Regions from separate parts of the Homo sapiens genome. Here regions 1, 2 and 4 are each linked to region 3. Evidence: promoter capture Hi-C in human tissues and cell types (Jung and others, 2019). All regions are on one chromosome and are shown on one strand. Each heading gives the region's core, a stretch centred on a gene start or on the middle of the fragment in contact. The rest is flanking DNA. Distances are from core to core; before and after follow the strand shown.

Region 1 (3,453 bases), core at 828-3,327, 430 kb before region 3:
CGAGTCTTAAATGAACTAATATTGAATGAGTTAATATCTGTGGAAGTTACTAGAATAATATCAAGCACATAGTAAGGGCTCTAAAAATTGCTGAATTAACAAATGACTCTTAGTAATACAAAGAGTTTATAGTTAAGAGTCACGTGAGCAAAGCACACCAGGAAAATATGTTCAATGCTCACTGAGATCCGAACACACTATGGGAATTAATGATACGTAAGGACCAAGGAAGGCACACAAGGAGAAAAGTCAGAATGCGAGCAGCATAGCCCTAAGACAGGGAATGAGTCAGCCTGGTGACTGGCAGAGAGAATTAGATTGCCAGTTTTAGGTGGGCTTTACTGCCAAAGGGTATTTCCTACCCGTTTATCTACTTTTCAATGTTCTCCTATGTTTCAATTTTCCTATATAATCCTAATAGAATTCTGAAGACATACGGTAAAGAGAGTGCCATGCGGATCTAAAATGCCCTAATGTAAACAGTTTATACCAGTTTCATGGAGCATGAGTGAGAACCACAAAGCTACGCTTTCTGCTGTTTGCTAAACAAAAATAACTTATTCTCTAAAAATGAGTCAATGAATGAAATAATTAAATAACTGACTGTACTCAAACTGGAAGTGACATGAGAAACTATAATTTTTCATTTCTGGTGCCAGATCTGAATTAGAATACATTATTTTCACTAAACTTCAATTTCTCCCATAAATTATAAATACATATTGAGCACGGGCTTTATGCACAGCAGAGTATTGTAGGAAAAGAGATAGTAAGATATACAGTACTTAAATTGCAGGGTGAAAAGATGTTTAAAATTATAACTTACTAACCGGAGATAGTCAGGGTAATTTCCTGTGGAGACCCCGAGGAAGACGTGGCAGTGGGCCCAGCGGCCTGTGCCAGGACCTGGCTCAGGCTGGAGTTGTTAATGGTCAGGGTGATCTCGTGGGGACCGCCGGAGGGGGACACTAGACCTTGCGAAGTCATCACTTGAGTGAGGTCTTGGGTCCCTGATTGTCATTACAAAGCAAAACAAAGTTGAGATTCAAAATAACCAATTTCCCCTGTTTTTATATTAAAAATATTTTAATTAAACTGTTATTACATATTTCAATAAGACAAAGATTTAAAACAAAGCATCAGTCATCTCTAATTCCTTCGTCTAAGAAGAAAGCCTTGTGAGGAAATGAAGCCAGGATGAAAAGAGTAATTAAATGAAGGTAGTAATAATCTAAGAGCATATATTAAATACATATCATTAATTGTAAGAAAAGCTTATTTTATTCTCAGGACATTTGATTTATTCTCTTCTACAAAGAGAAGAAAATGACATCATAACATCCTAAATTCAAATATGTAATCACAAGCAAGAAACTGAAACTCCAGCTGTCAAAATAAGCAAAAGTGAGTGGCTCTTACCACTGCTGTTAGTGGTCAGCACTGAATCCTGCTCAGACAGCGGGCCTATGGTCAGGTTCGCAGAGGTCACTGTGGGCTGTAAGGACAGGCCTGAGATGGGCTGGATGACAACACTGGCAGGGACCGTGCTGTCCGATGTCTGGAGAGAGCTGTTCTGTGGGGCCAGGCCAGGCTCCCCCGTGAGCTGCTGAGCCAATAGGTTGCCCTGCTGTAGCGTCTGCTGCAGAATGCTTGGATCAATCTGAAAAGCAGCACAGGTACTTGTAATGAAAACTTCATGCTTCTCTGTGATGCCAAGAGAATTACAGCACAGGAGACCATGGAAGGTGTCATACCTGCAACGTAATGTTATTAATGCTGGCAGCATCGATTCCAGAAATCTGTACATTTGGTCCAACCAAGTTAGCAGCCAACTGTAACTGGATGCCTTCTAGGGTAGCCAGGCTCCCATCTGTCAGAGACACGGTCAGGTCACCCCCAGCTGGCCAGAGAAAGAGAAAGAGAATGATCAAATATTATGAATGCTTCTTAAAACTAAAGTAATTCATTTTTTACATAGGGATTTTTAAATACATAAGTTGTACACATTATGTCAATACAATGTTGTTGTGGAATACGAACACCTACTTTATACCATATACACATATATGCTGTTTAATCACCCTTTATACCATATACACACACTGTCTAATCACCCCTTATTTATACCATATACACACACACTGTCTAATCACCCTTTATACCATACACACACACTGTCTAATCACCCTTTATACCATACACACACATGGTCTAATCACCCTTTATACCATACACACAGTCTAATCACTCTTTATACCATATATACACACACAGTCTAATCACCCTTTATACCATATATACACACACTGTCTAATCACCCTTTATACCATATATACACACACTGTCTAATCATACACACTGTCTAATCACCCTTTATACCATATATACACACACAGTCTAATTACCCCAGAAACCTACTTTCTACCATATACGCACATATACTGTCTAATCACCCATTATACCATATATACACACAATGTCTAATCACCCCAGAAACCTACTTTATACCATACACAAATACACTGTCTAATCACCCCAGAACAACTCTGTAAAACAGATACTCCTTTATGCCATACGCATACACTGTCTAATCACCCGCGAAATCTCATTTATACCATATACACATACACTGTCTCATCACCTCAGAAACCTACTTTTTACTATATCCACATACAGTCTAATCACCGCAGAGCAACTCTGTGAAACAGATACACTTTATACCATACACACACACTGTCTAATCACCCCAGAACTCTGTGAAATGGATACTCATATTGCCCACTTTAAACGTATCAGAAAAGTAGCTCAAAAAGATTCTACTGATTAGCCAAAGGTTCAAAACAACCACTACTACTGAGTGGTGGTCAGGCTGCAATCCTGCCACGAGTCACAGAAACAGAAAGAAGGGCACACAGGACATCTGACTGCCATGTACAACGGCTGCATTTACTCACAGGCACACAAATCAACACAACTAGCTAAAATGTAACACTTCTCAAGCACTATGAGACGCAAGAACAACTGGAAAACTGCACTATATCAAAAACAATGCTATTGAGTATTTATAAATTACACTTCTCACTACTAAATTTATGAGAATGCCAACTGAGTAAAAACAGGTTTACACCCACTAAAAACAAAAGCTAAACAAAGTGCTTAGTGTAAAAAAGCAGCTGGCATGGAAGACAGAATGCGAAATGGAAAGGAGCAATGTCTGCAAGACGGAATTCCAATTTTTCCGAATGCCTTATAAGGAAAAGGCTCAAAGAAGGGAAACGTGGTGCTACGGTAAACAACATCTCTTCTGTCGTGGGAACAGACAGAAGCAGCACAGAACAGTTCAATCACTGTGCTGCTCTCATTCCCTCGGCTCAGCGTTTACCTGACACAGAGGCAGGGAGAATAGCTTGGCCCACCAGTCCTGGTTGCAGCAGATTCTGATCAAACTGTCCT
Region 2 (3,427 bases), core at 883-3,382, 460 kb before region 3:
TGAGTGCTTACTTTGGACCAGGACCTGTGCTCTGTGCCAGGGAACATTACATGCCCAATCTCTGACCACTATGAGGTAGTCCTAACTACACCCCTGTTTGGGGGTTTGGGTTTTGTTTTGTTTTTTTGTTTTCTTTGAAACACCAACTTGCTCTGTTACCCAGGTTGGAGTACAGTGGTGATCATAGCTCACAGCAGTCTCGAACTCCTGGGCTCAAGCAGTCCTCCTGCCTCAGCCTCCCAAAATGCTGGGATTACAGGTGTGAGCTACTGTGCCTGGCCACCTCTGTCTTAAAAACAGGCCATCACACAGATGTAGGATTGCCTGAGGGCTCCTGGCCAGAAAGCATGGGAGCAGGGATGCACAGACATCACCAGAGGCTACAGCCAGCACTCCCAGCCACTCTGTCGTGGGTTCAGATAAACCCAGGGTGCTTCAAATGGTCCCAGCTTCCTCCCAGAAGCACAGGCCAGAGGCAGACCCAGGCATGTGTCTCAAGTCCCTGGTCAGAGCCCAGGTCAGAGCCTGGAAGCGTCAATGTGCATTCCATCTGTGACAAGAAAGCATTAGGATGAAATTAGACCATGATTAAAACCAATTAATGTTGGCAAACAGTGCTACAACCTAACAAGGGAAATTTACAGAAAACATCTAAGAGAATTTCTCTTACTAATTATAGGCATACCTTGTTTTCATTGAACTTTGCTTTTTTTGTCCTCCATAGATATCCTGTCGTTTTTACAAATTGAAAGTTTGTGGCGAGGCTGCTTCGAGCAAGTCTACTGGTGCCATTTTTCCAACGGCACATGCTCAGTTCGTGTGTGTGTCACATTTTGGTAATTCTCGCAATATTTCAAACTTTTTCATTACAGCGTATCTATTACAGTGATCTGTGATTAGCGATCTTTGATGTTACTATTGTAATTGTGTTGAGGCACCACAAACCCCACCCACATAAAATGGCAAACTTAACCTATAAATGTTTGTGTCTGACTGCTTCACCAACTGGCCATCCCACCTCTCCTTGGGCCTCCCTATTCTCTGAGACACAACAATACTAAAATGAGGCCAATTAATGATCCCACAATGCCTGTAAGTGTTCAAGTGAAACGAAGAGTCACACATCCCTCACTTCAAAACCTAGAAATGATTAAGCTTAATGAGGAAGGCACGCAGAGAGCTGAGACAGGCTGAAAGCTCAGCCTCTTGTGTCAAACTATTAGCCAACTTGTGAAATGAAGGAAAGGTTCTTGAAGGAAATTAAAAGTGTTATCCAGTGAGCCCATGAATGATAAGAAAGTGAAACTGCACTGTTGCTGATAAGCAGAAAGTTTTAATGGCCTAGACAGATCAAAACAGCCACAATCCTCGCTTAAGCCAAAGCCTAATCCAGAGCAAGACTCTAACTCTCTTCCATGTTATGAAGGCCGAGAGGTGAGGGAGCTGCAGAAGAAAAGCTGGAAACTAGCAGAGGTCAATCCATGAGAACTAAGGAAAGAAGCCACCCTCCATAACATAGCAGTGCAAGGTGAAGCAGCAAGTGTTGCTGGAGAAGCTGCAGCAAGTTCTCCAGAACATCTAGCCAAGAGCATCGATGAAGGTCACTCCATTAAACAACAGATTTTCAGTGTAAACAGAACAGCTTTATAGTGGAAGAAGATGGCTCTAGGACTTTCATAGCTACAGAAAAGTCAGTGTCTGGCTTCAAAGGACAGGCTGACTCTCTTGTGAGGGGCTAGTGCAGCTAGTGACTTTAAGTTGAAGCCAATGCTCATTTACCATTCCAAAAATCCTAAGGCCCTTAAGAATGATGCTAAATCCATTCTTTCTGTGCTCTACAAATGAAACAATAAAGCCTGAATGACAGCACGTCTGTTTACAGCATGATTTGCTGAATATTTTAAGCCCACTGCTGAGACCTACTGGTCAGAAAAAATGATTCCTTTCAAAATATTCCTGCTCATTGACAATGCACCTGGTCACCCAAGAGCTGTGATGGAGATGTACAAAGAGATGAATGTTGCTTTCATGTCTGCTAACATGACATCCACACTGTAGCCCATGGATGAAGGAGTAATTTCAACTTTCAAGTCTTACTAAGAAATACATCTCATAAGGCTGTAGCCGACATAGATAGTGATTCCTATGATGGATCTGGGCAAAGTAAAGTGAAAATCTGTGGAAAGGATTCACCACTCTATATGCCATTAAGAACATTTGTGATTCATGGGAGGAAGTCAAAATATCAACATTAACAGGAGTTTGGAAGAAGTTGATTCCAGCCCTCATGGATGACTTTGAGAGGTTCAAGACTTCAGCAGAAGAAGTAACTACAGATGTGGAGGAATGGGCAACAGAATTAGAAATGGAGCCTGAAGATGACTGAATTGCTGCAATCTCATGGTATATATAACTCAGCAGATAAGGATCTCATGGTATATATAACTGAGCAGATAAGGATCTCATGGTATATATAACTGAGCAGATAGGGATCTAAAGGTATATATAACTTGAGCAGACAAGGAGTTGCTTCTTATGGATGAGCAAAGAAAGCAGTTACTTGAGACGGAATCTACTCCTGGTGATGATGCGGTGAACATTGTTGAAATTACAACAAAAGATTTAAAAGATTACAGAAACTTAGTAAAGCAGCAGTGGGCTTTGAGAGATGGACTCCAATTTTGAAAGAGGTTCTACTTTGCGTAAAATGCTATCAAACATCATTGCATGCTATGGGGAAATCTTTCATGAAAGGAAGAATCAACGCAGCAAACTTCACTGTTGTCTTATTTTAAGAAATCGTCACGGCCACCCCAAACTTCAACAACCACCACCTTGATCAGTCAGCAGCCATCAACATCAAGGCAAGACCCTCAACCAGCAAAAAGATTACAACTCACTGAAGGCTCAGGTGATCGTTAGCATTTTTAGCAATAAGGTATTTTTAAATTAAGGTATGTACATTTAAAAAAAAAACGTAATGCTGGTCAGGCACAGTGGCTCATGCCTGTAATCCCAGCACTGTGGGAGGCTGAGGTGGGCGATCACTTGAGCTCAGGAGTTTGAGACCAGCCTGGCAACATGGCAAAATCCCATCTCTACTAAAAATACAAAAATTAGCCAGGTGTGGTGGTGCACACCTGTGATTCCAGCTACTTGGGAGGCTGAGGCAGGAGAATCACTTGAACCCAGGAGGCGGAGGTTGCAGTGAGCTGAGATTGCACCACTGCACTCTAGCCTGGGCAACAGAGCAAGACTCTGTCTCAAAAAAAAAAAAAAAGAGAAATAATGCTGCTGAACACTATTATTACAGTATAGTATAAACATCATATGCCCTGGGAAACCAGAAAACTAAATCATAATGTTAATGTATGACTTTGTTGTGATAATCGCTTTATTGCAGTGCTCTAGAACTGAATGCATGTTA
Region 3 (3,482 bases), core at 855-3,354:
GTCTGCCACACCAGACACCAGGACTTAACTCTTTGCCCATCCATCAAATTACGCTCTCAGATTTCGCATGCACTGTAGATAAACGTGTAAGAAAGGAAATGGTTTAAAAGCACAATATTATTGTAGACAGACAATGCCCTGAGTGAAATCACATGTGGGTGACTTAAGACAGGGCCCTAAACCGGCTAGAAAAAGGAAGCAAGTCATGAACAGTTTTATGTGGAGGGGTTTGGAAGTCTTGATCACCATTCAATGATCTACCTTGTCCATTTTCAACACATGGAAATTGTTAGCGCAAGTTTGTACTTTAAAATAGACCCAAGAATGCAGATGAACGTAGGTTTACAGGACTGATATTCATTCCAAAATCCTACCAAAAAGCTATTAAAGTGTCTTCAAATTTTAATCTTTGTTGTTACCTACATGTATGTAATAATATGTGTATACAAGGACATTTACGGCTTTGTAATTAACTGAATTTGGGGATACTTTCTTTGTGCATTTTCACAGTGTACTGAAATGAATGGTGGGCACGTCAATACTTTTCGGTGAATCAGACTTAAACGTGATTGCTGAAGAATACATCCCACTTAGGCATTCATGCTGAAGCCAGCAACAATTGTCCGTGACCTTTAACATGCCCGCTCTCCAAATCAGTGCAGGTCGTTAGTCACACGGAGCTTACATTTGAGGACTCGCGGATCCTTCATAGCGGAGGTTGTCCCTGTCTTTCTGCCTGACTCCCCCCCGCCCCCCGACCCCGACACACACTCCCCACCGCCCCCAGAAACATCACACATGCAGAATGCCCCCCCCGTCTGATCGCCAGCTTTCGGGCACATGCGCCTCCCTTTGCAGCGCGTCTGGAGTAGTTTCTTTTGTAAACGCCCTAAGTTGGGGAGGGCCGCGGGCTGCGAGTGTGAGGCGCAGAGAGAGACGCCGCCGCTGAGGTAACCGCCAGGATTGCAGCGCTGATTGCTACGCGGAGCCACGTTGGGCGTCTTGGACGGAATCCACCTCCACTGCGGAGTTATCACGAGGAGAAGGAGAACAATACGGCCAGGAGCCTGGTGGGAGAAGATAGTGTTACCCCTCCGCAGGCCGCAGCTCCCCGGGTCTACGTCACCGGCCGTGAAGGGGCGCTCGCCCTCGCTAGCTCCGACCCGCCCCTCCCCCGCCCCCGCGCGCCCGCCCTCCCCTCCCCCACCCCGGCCATCCCTGCCCTGTAACAGGAGAGCGTTTTGGAGTCAAATTAGGATTTCTAGTCCCAGACTCAACTTATTACAACTAACTACTGCTCGTGGGGAGTAGGTGAGGTGAAGAAATGAAGTTTTAAGAACAGAAAAATAAGAGTTGAACTTTCGAGGCTACCGGTAAACAACCCCTTCATTTTTAAATGGCCGGGTGGCAGAGCCGCTGTTTGAAGTCTTTCCAGCGGGACCTCTGTGACCCTTGATTCAGGACTTAATGTATTGATCCTGCATCTGAACACCCCCAGAGGCATTTACCAGGAAGTTGAGTGACACGCACACGCTACGCCGTGTGTAATGCACACGCACCTGGGACCCCCGAAGGGGTGTCCCCATTTCAGTCCAGATGGGGCGCAGTGCCCAGGTACCCGCCGGCGGGACCCGCATCCCGAGCACGTCTGTACGTATGGATGCGCGTGTGCGCGCGGAAACGGCCTCCGGGAGCCGGGGCTGCAGCAGCCTTAGACCTTGACGAGGGGCGACCACTGGCCGCTGGAACCGTGATTCAGTGCTATTAGGGGAGGAATTGGCTGTGTCTGAGTCACTGCAAGCCTCCAGACTGTCCCCTCAGTGTGGCAGAACTTTGTGCTGATGAGACAATAGTGGAGTGTGCGTTTCCTACAGGGCAGACCATTTCCAGGCTGGGGGAAGCCTCCGGCCTGCGCCGGGCCGTGAGCGCCCGGCCCCCTCCCCGTGCCGCGCAGCCCCCCGAGCCCGGCTCGCGCCGGGGCCCCCGCGGGGCGGACGCGTCCGGGGCGCGCGCGGGCGGCGCGAGGAGGGGGCCGGGCGCGTGGCGGGCCCCGCGCGCCCTCGCGCGTCCCCCGCGCCCGGGCGCAGCTGGCGCGGTCGGTCTAGTGCAGCGCTCGGCTCCGCGCCGCGGGCGCTCGGCTTCACCTTCAGATGCGCGGGGCGTGCGCGTCCTCCTCCCCAGGCCCGCCGCCTCCCTGCCAAGGTAGGGGCCGCGGGCGGGGGGAGGGCTGCGCCGCAGGGGCCGCGGGCGGGCGGTGGGCGCGGGGCCCGGAGCCCCGACGTGCCCCGTACTCTGGTGTGCGCCGCTGGGGGTAGGGGGGGAGGCGCTGGGGAGGGGGGTGCGCCGGGGAGGGGCCCCCCGGGCGCGGGGAGGGCTACTTGGCTTTCCCGGTGGGTAGTTGCTCTGCTCGTCAATTCCAGGATAGGGGAAGATGCAACTTCGGGCGGCGGGGCGAGCGCCCGGGAGGTGGTTTTTACCGCAGTGGAGGGGCGGGGTGGGGGCCGGGGTGGGAGCGCGGAAGAGGCTCTGGCTTTGTACACTTTGTCAAAGGCGACGCGGGAGGAGGGGAGCTCGGATGCGCTCTCCATCCATTAGGAGACAAAGAGCAAATTGCCTTACTTTAAAGTAAAACGCTCCGGCTAATGAAGGTGGGTGATGGGGCTGCGGGCCCGAGGAGCCGCTTCAATTATTAAGGGTTTGGCGGATGGGATCGATGCCTGTGGGCACCGCGCGCTGCTGCCTAGGGGACGTGTTTGCGTGGAGGTGGGGGTGGCCTTGTTTTTTACGGCCCCCTCCCCGGCTGCTTGCCAGTCTGCTGGGAGCTTCTAAGTGACCCTAACGTTAAAGAAGTGAGAGGTCCTGGAAGGGAAGTTCGGGCGGGGGTGGGGGTGGGGGCGAGGGTCTGGCACCGACTCGGAGAGGGGTGGGCAGGGACTCCTCGGAGCTGCGCCCCGCCGGGTGCGGGTGGGGGAGGCCTCGGTGGCGAGATGAACCCGGGTGTATGAAGGAAGAATGCGGTGGGGTGTGTGTGGTTGGGCGGGAGGTGGGGGGAGGCGCCTCCGCTGCCATTTCCAGGGAGAACTAACAGACTGAATAGTTACGATCAGTATTTAGATTAAACCGCCTCAAGTTTTAACGAAACTTTGTATGAATAAGTTTGTTAAATGGCAGCCGAGTGGGGTATTTAAAAGCAGCAGTTTATGTGTGTGGTGAGGAAAGCCAGTGGACCCCCGCAATTAGGGACCAGAGGGAACCAGCCTTTTACCCGAAAAATGTGGGTCTGTAAGTCAGCCTCATCTATTATCAGCGTTAATAAGCTTCCCGCAGCAGACCGGGAGCTCTGGGGGCTGTGTGTGTGTCTTACTCATTCCGCTGATAAAGAGTCACCGGGTCTCCGGGTGTGCAAAGATCAACTTGCGCAGCCCTCTTTTTAAATATATTCATTCTGTGCTTTATTTAATCCAGATGCACAAAAAGCCATT
Region 4 (3,398 bases), core at 226-2,725, 480 kb before region 3:
CCCGGGACCACAGAAGAGGGGATGCTGGTGTGGGAGGACCCTGCGGCACTCTCGTCCTAACTCCTCTCTCTTCCTTTTCAGGGAGGAAGAGATAGTCGCTCTGGATCACCCATGGCTAGACGCTGAAAACCCACCTGGTTCCGGAATCCTGTCCTCAGCTTCTTAATATAACTGCCTTAAAACTTTAATCCCACTTGCCCCTGTTACCTAATTAGAGCAGATGACCCCTCCCCTAATGCCTGCGGAGTTGTGCACGTAGTAGGGTCAGGCCACGGCAGCCTACCGGCAATTTCCGGCCAACAGTTAAATGAGAACATGAAAACAGAAAACGGTTAAAACTGTCCCTTTCTGTGTGAAGATCACGTTCCTTCCCCCGCAATGTGCCCCCAGACGCACGTGGGTCTTCAGGGGGCCAGGTGCACAGACGTCCCTCCACGTTCACCCCTCCACCCTTGGACTTTCTTTTCGCCGTGGCTGCGGCACCCTTGCGCTTTTGCTGGTCACTGCCATGGAGGCACACAGCTGCAGAGACAGAGAGGACGTGGGCGGCAGAGAGGACTGTTGACATCCAAGCTTCCTTTGTTTTTTTTTCCTGTCCTTCTCTCACCTCCTAAAGTAGACTTCATTTTTCCTAACAGGATTAGACAGTCAAGGAGTGGCTTACTACATGTGGGAGCTTTTGGTATGTGACATGCGGGCTGGGCAGCTGTTAGAGTCCAACGTGGGGCAGCACAGAGAGGGGGCCACCTCCCCAGGCCGTGGCTGCCCACACACCCCAATTAGCTGAATTCGCGTGTGGCAGAGGGAGGAAAAGGAGGCAAACGTGGGCTGGGCAATGGCCTCACATAGGAAACAGGGTCTTCCTGGAGATTTGGTGATGGAGATGTCAAGCAGGTGGCCTCTGGACGTCACCGTTGCCCTGCATGGTGGCCCCAGAGCAGCCTCTATGAACAACCTCGTTTCCAAACCACAGCCCACAGCCGGAGAGTCCAGGAAGACTTGCGCACTCAGAGCAGAAGGGTAGGAGTCCTCTAGACAGCCTCGCAGCCGCGCCAGTCGCCCATAGACACTGGCTGTGACCGGGCGTGCTGGCAGCGGCAGTGCACAGTGGCCAGCACTAACCCTCCCTGAGAAGATAACCGGCTCATTCACTTCCTCCCAGAAGACGCGTGGTAGCGAGTAGGCACAGGCGTGCACCTGCTCCCGAATTACTCACCGAGACACACGGGCTGAGCAGACGGCCCCGTGGATGGAGACAAAGAGCTCTTCTGACCATATCCTTCTTAACACCCGCTGGCATCTCCTTTCGCGCCTCCCTCCCTAACCTACTGACCCACCTTTTGATTTTAGCGCACCTGTGATTGATAGGCCTTCCAAAGAGTCCCACGCTGGCATCACCCTCCCCGAGGACGGAGATGAGGAGTAGTCAGCGTGATGCCAAAACGCGTCTTCTTAATCCAATTCTAATTCTGAATGTTTCGTGTGGGCTTAATACCATGTCTATTAATATATAGCCTCGATGATGAGAGAGTTACAAAGAACAAAACTCCAGACACAAACCTCCAAATTTTTCAGCAGAAGCACTCTGCGTCGCTGAGCTGAGGTCGGCTCTGCGATCCATACGTGGCCGCACCCACACAGCACGTGCTGTGACGATGGCTGAACGGAAAGTGTACACTGTTCCTGAATATTGAAATAAAACAATAAACTTTTAATGGTATTTGCATGGGTGTCTTCTTTTGTGTTCCGGGCTGTAGCACACAGGCCCACATCAAGCGAGAGCCAGGTGTGCAGAGCAAATGTGACTCGGTGCCTCTGGGTCTCCAGGCAGGGCTGCCTGGCGGTGCCTGTTGGAGGGGGCATCCTCATCAGAGGGTCGATGGCTACTGAAGAAAGTGGAACAGAGGTAGTTGTTAGGGCACTGATTCTCTCACCAGGAAAAAAATATTTAGTGTCTCTGAAGACAAGCTTCCAAGTCTGTCTGTGTTCTGCTGTGTGGCTAGTGTACACACCCTGCAGATGTGAACCCAGGAGTCTTGGACGTGTTCCCCTTGCCACCTTTTTCTCTGAAAGCATGAAAGAGCGTGAAGCAATGTTTTACTTATAGTTACCTTTGGTTACAAGAATTTTTCTTCAAAAAGATAGACGAAAGTCTCTTTTGTTTTTTCTTTTTCTTTTGAGACAGGATCTTACTTTGCCACCCAGGTTGGAGTGCAGTGCTGCAATCTTGGCTCACTGCAGCCTTAACCTCCCAGGCTCAAGCTATCCTCCTGCCAAAGCCTTCCACATAGCTGGGACTACAGGTACACGCCACCACACCCAGCTAAAATTTTTGTATTTTTTGTAGAGACGGGATCTCGCCATGTTGCCCAGGCTGGTCCCATCCTGACCTCAAGCAGATCTGCCCACCTCAGCCTCCCAACGTGCTAGGATTACAGGCGTGAGCCACCGCACCCAGCCTTTGTTTTGCTTTTAATGGAATCACCAGTTCCCCTCCGTGTCTCAGCAGCAGCTGTGAGAAATGCTTTGCATCTGTGACCTTTATGAAGGGGAACTTCCATGCTGAATGAGGGTAGGATTACATGCTCCTGTTTCCCGGGGGTCAGAGAGCCTCAGACTCCAGCATGATAAGCAGGGTGAGAAGCTTGAGAATATGATTGCATTCATTGCAATAGCAGGAAAAACTGCCGAGGCTGGAGGCATGGCCACCTGAGCTCGCCTGGCAGGCGTGGCAGACAGAAAGCCCACGTTCACTGGCTACACTTCTCTGCCCAGACCCCTTCCAACTGAGGAATTTGGAAAATCATGCAAAGATAATTACATTTTAAAAATTGTATTCTTTTCATTGGCAAGTCTAAATGTAACATATGTGGAAAATGCATTAAAAGGCAAACCAAGGGTACATCATAAGCTAGCATTCACCATGACAGTACAATACTTGGGTGAGTATTTTAAAATAAAACACAGCAAGATAGGAACTGAGCCAGGGAGCTTGTGTGCTCACTGAACGCTTGCCTGAAGAGGCCCGCCTACTTTCTCCTGAAGGTGACTGGAAATTAACTTACCAGGCTGAGAGCCAAGAGGAGGGGCTGCTGGAGCCCCAGCCTCATGGACGCAGATGCCCTTCCCCACCACCCGCGCAGCCTGTCAGGACCTTCCCCATGGCCTGCGCAGGCTGTCAGGACCACAGTCAGTAGAGGCTAGAGGGGCCGTGAGGGTCTGTGGAACTGAACATAGAAAGCCGTAGTGATCACGCTTCCAACTGCCAGCCACACCCTGCCATTCAGAGCTGGCCTGCCCGTCTGTAGGGGCAGGGAACGCGTATGAAATTGATAGGGCAGCCTCTGAGCTTGGTGCGTGAAGTACCTGGCACGGAGGAAATGAAATCTCTGCAGAGG

The links. Contacts are between HindIII fragments. The study calls those that stand out against the background at their distance.
Region 1: a fragment that was not itself captured here is called in contact with the fragment with the promoter of ZNF516 in region 3 in 1 of the 25 tissues and cell types used here (lymphoblastoid cells).
Region 2: a fragment that was not itself captured here is called in contact with the fragment with the promoter of ZNF516 in region 3 in 1 of the 25 tissues and cell types used here (aorta).
Region 4: a contact is called between a fragment that was not itself captured here and the fragment with the promoter of ZNF516 in region 3, in 1 of the 25 tissues and cell types used here (lymphoblastoid cells).

The regions. Positions count from the first base shown.
Region 1 is chr18:76,925,484-76,928,936 of GRCh38, reverse strand. ZNF236 (zinc finger protein 236) reads right to left here. Exons shown (of 31, transcript NM_001306089.2): 22 at 3,383-3,453; 23 at 1,755-1,900; 24 at 1,420-1,660; 25 at 831-1,010. Among named protein-coding and RNA genes, the nearest start is that of MBP-AS1, 53 kb to the left of the region's middle. The HindIII fragment of the contact is 3,112 bases long and covers 522-3,453 here.
Region 2 is chr18:76,949,515-76,952,941 of GRCh38, reverse strand. All of the region lies in intron 27 of ZNF236 (zinc finger protein 236), which reads right to left. Among named protein-coding and RNA genes, the nearest start is that of MBP-AS1, 29 kb to the left of the region's middle. The HindIII fragment of the contact is 4,351 bases long and covers 1-3,427 here.
Region 3 is chr18:76,493,864-76,497,345 of GRCh38, reverse strand. It overlaps ZNF516 (zinc finger protein 516), which reads left to right and starts at 2,104. Exons shown (of 7, transcript NM_014643.4): 1 at 2,104-2,202. ZNF516-DT (ZNF516 divergent transcript) reads right to left here and starts at 2,007. Exons shown (of 2, transcript NR_164145.1): 1 at 1,560-2,007; 2 at 1-1,067. It overlaps ZNF516-AS1 (ZNF516 antisense RNA 1), which reads right to left. Exons shown (of 2, transcript NR_136504.1): 2 at 3,428-3,482. RefSeq lists silencers at 1,995-2,054, 2,185-2,284, 2,985-3,074. The HindIII fragment of the contact is 9,582 bases long and covers 1-3,482 here.
Region 4 is chr18:76,977,155-76,980,552 of GRCh38, reverse strand. It overlaps MBP (myelin basic protein), which reads left to right. Exons shown (of 9, transcript NM_001025101.2): 9 at 82-1,720. The coding sequence ends at 126. It overlaps MBP-AS1 (MBP antisense RNA 1), which reads right to left and starts at 124. Exons shown (of 3, transcript XR_935667.3): 1 at 1-124. The HindIII fragment of the contact is 4,702 bases long and covers 1-3,398 here.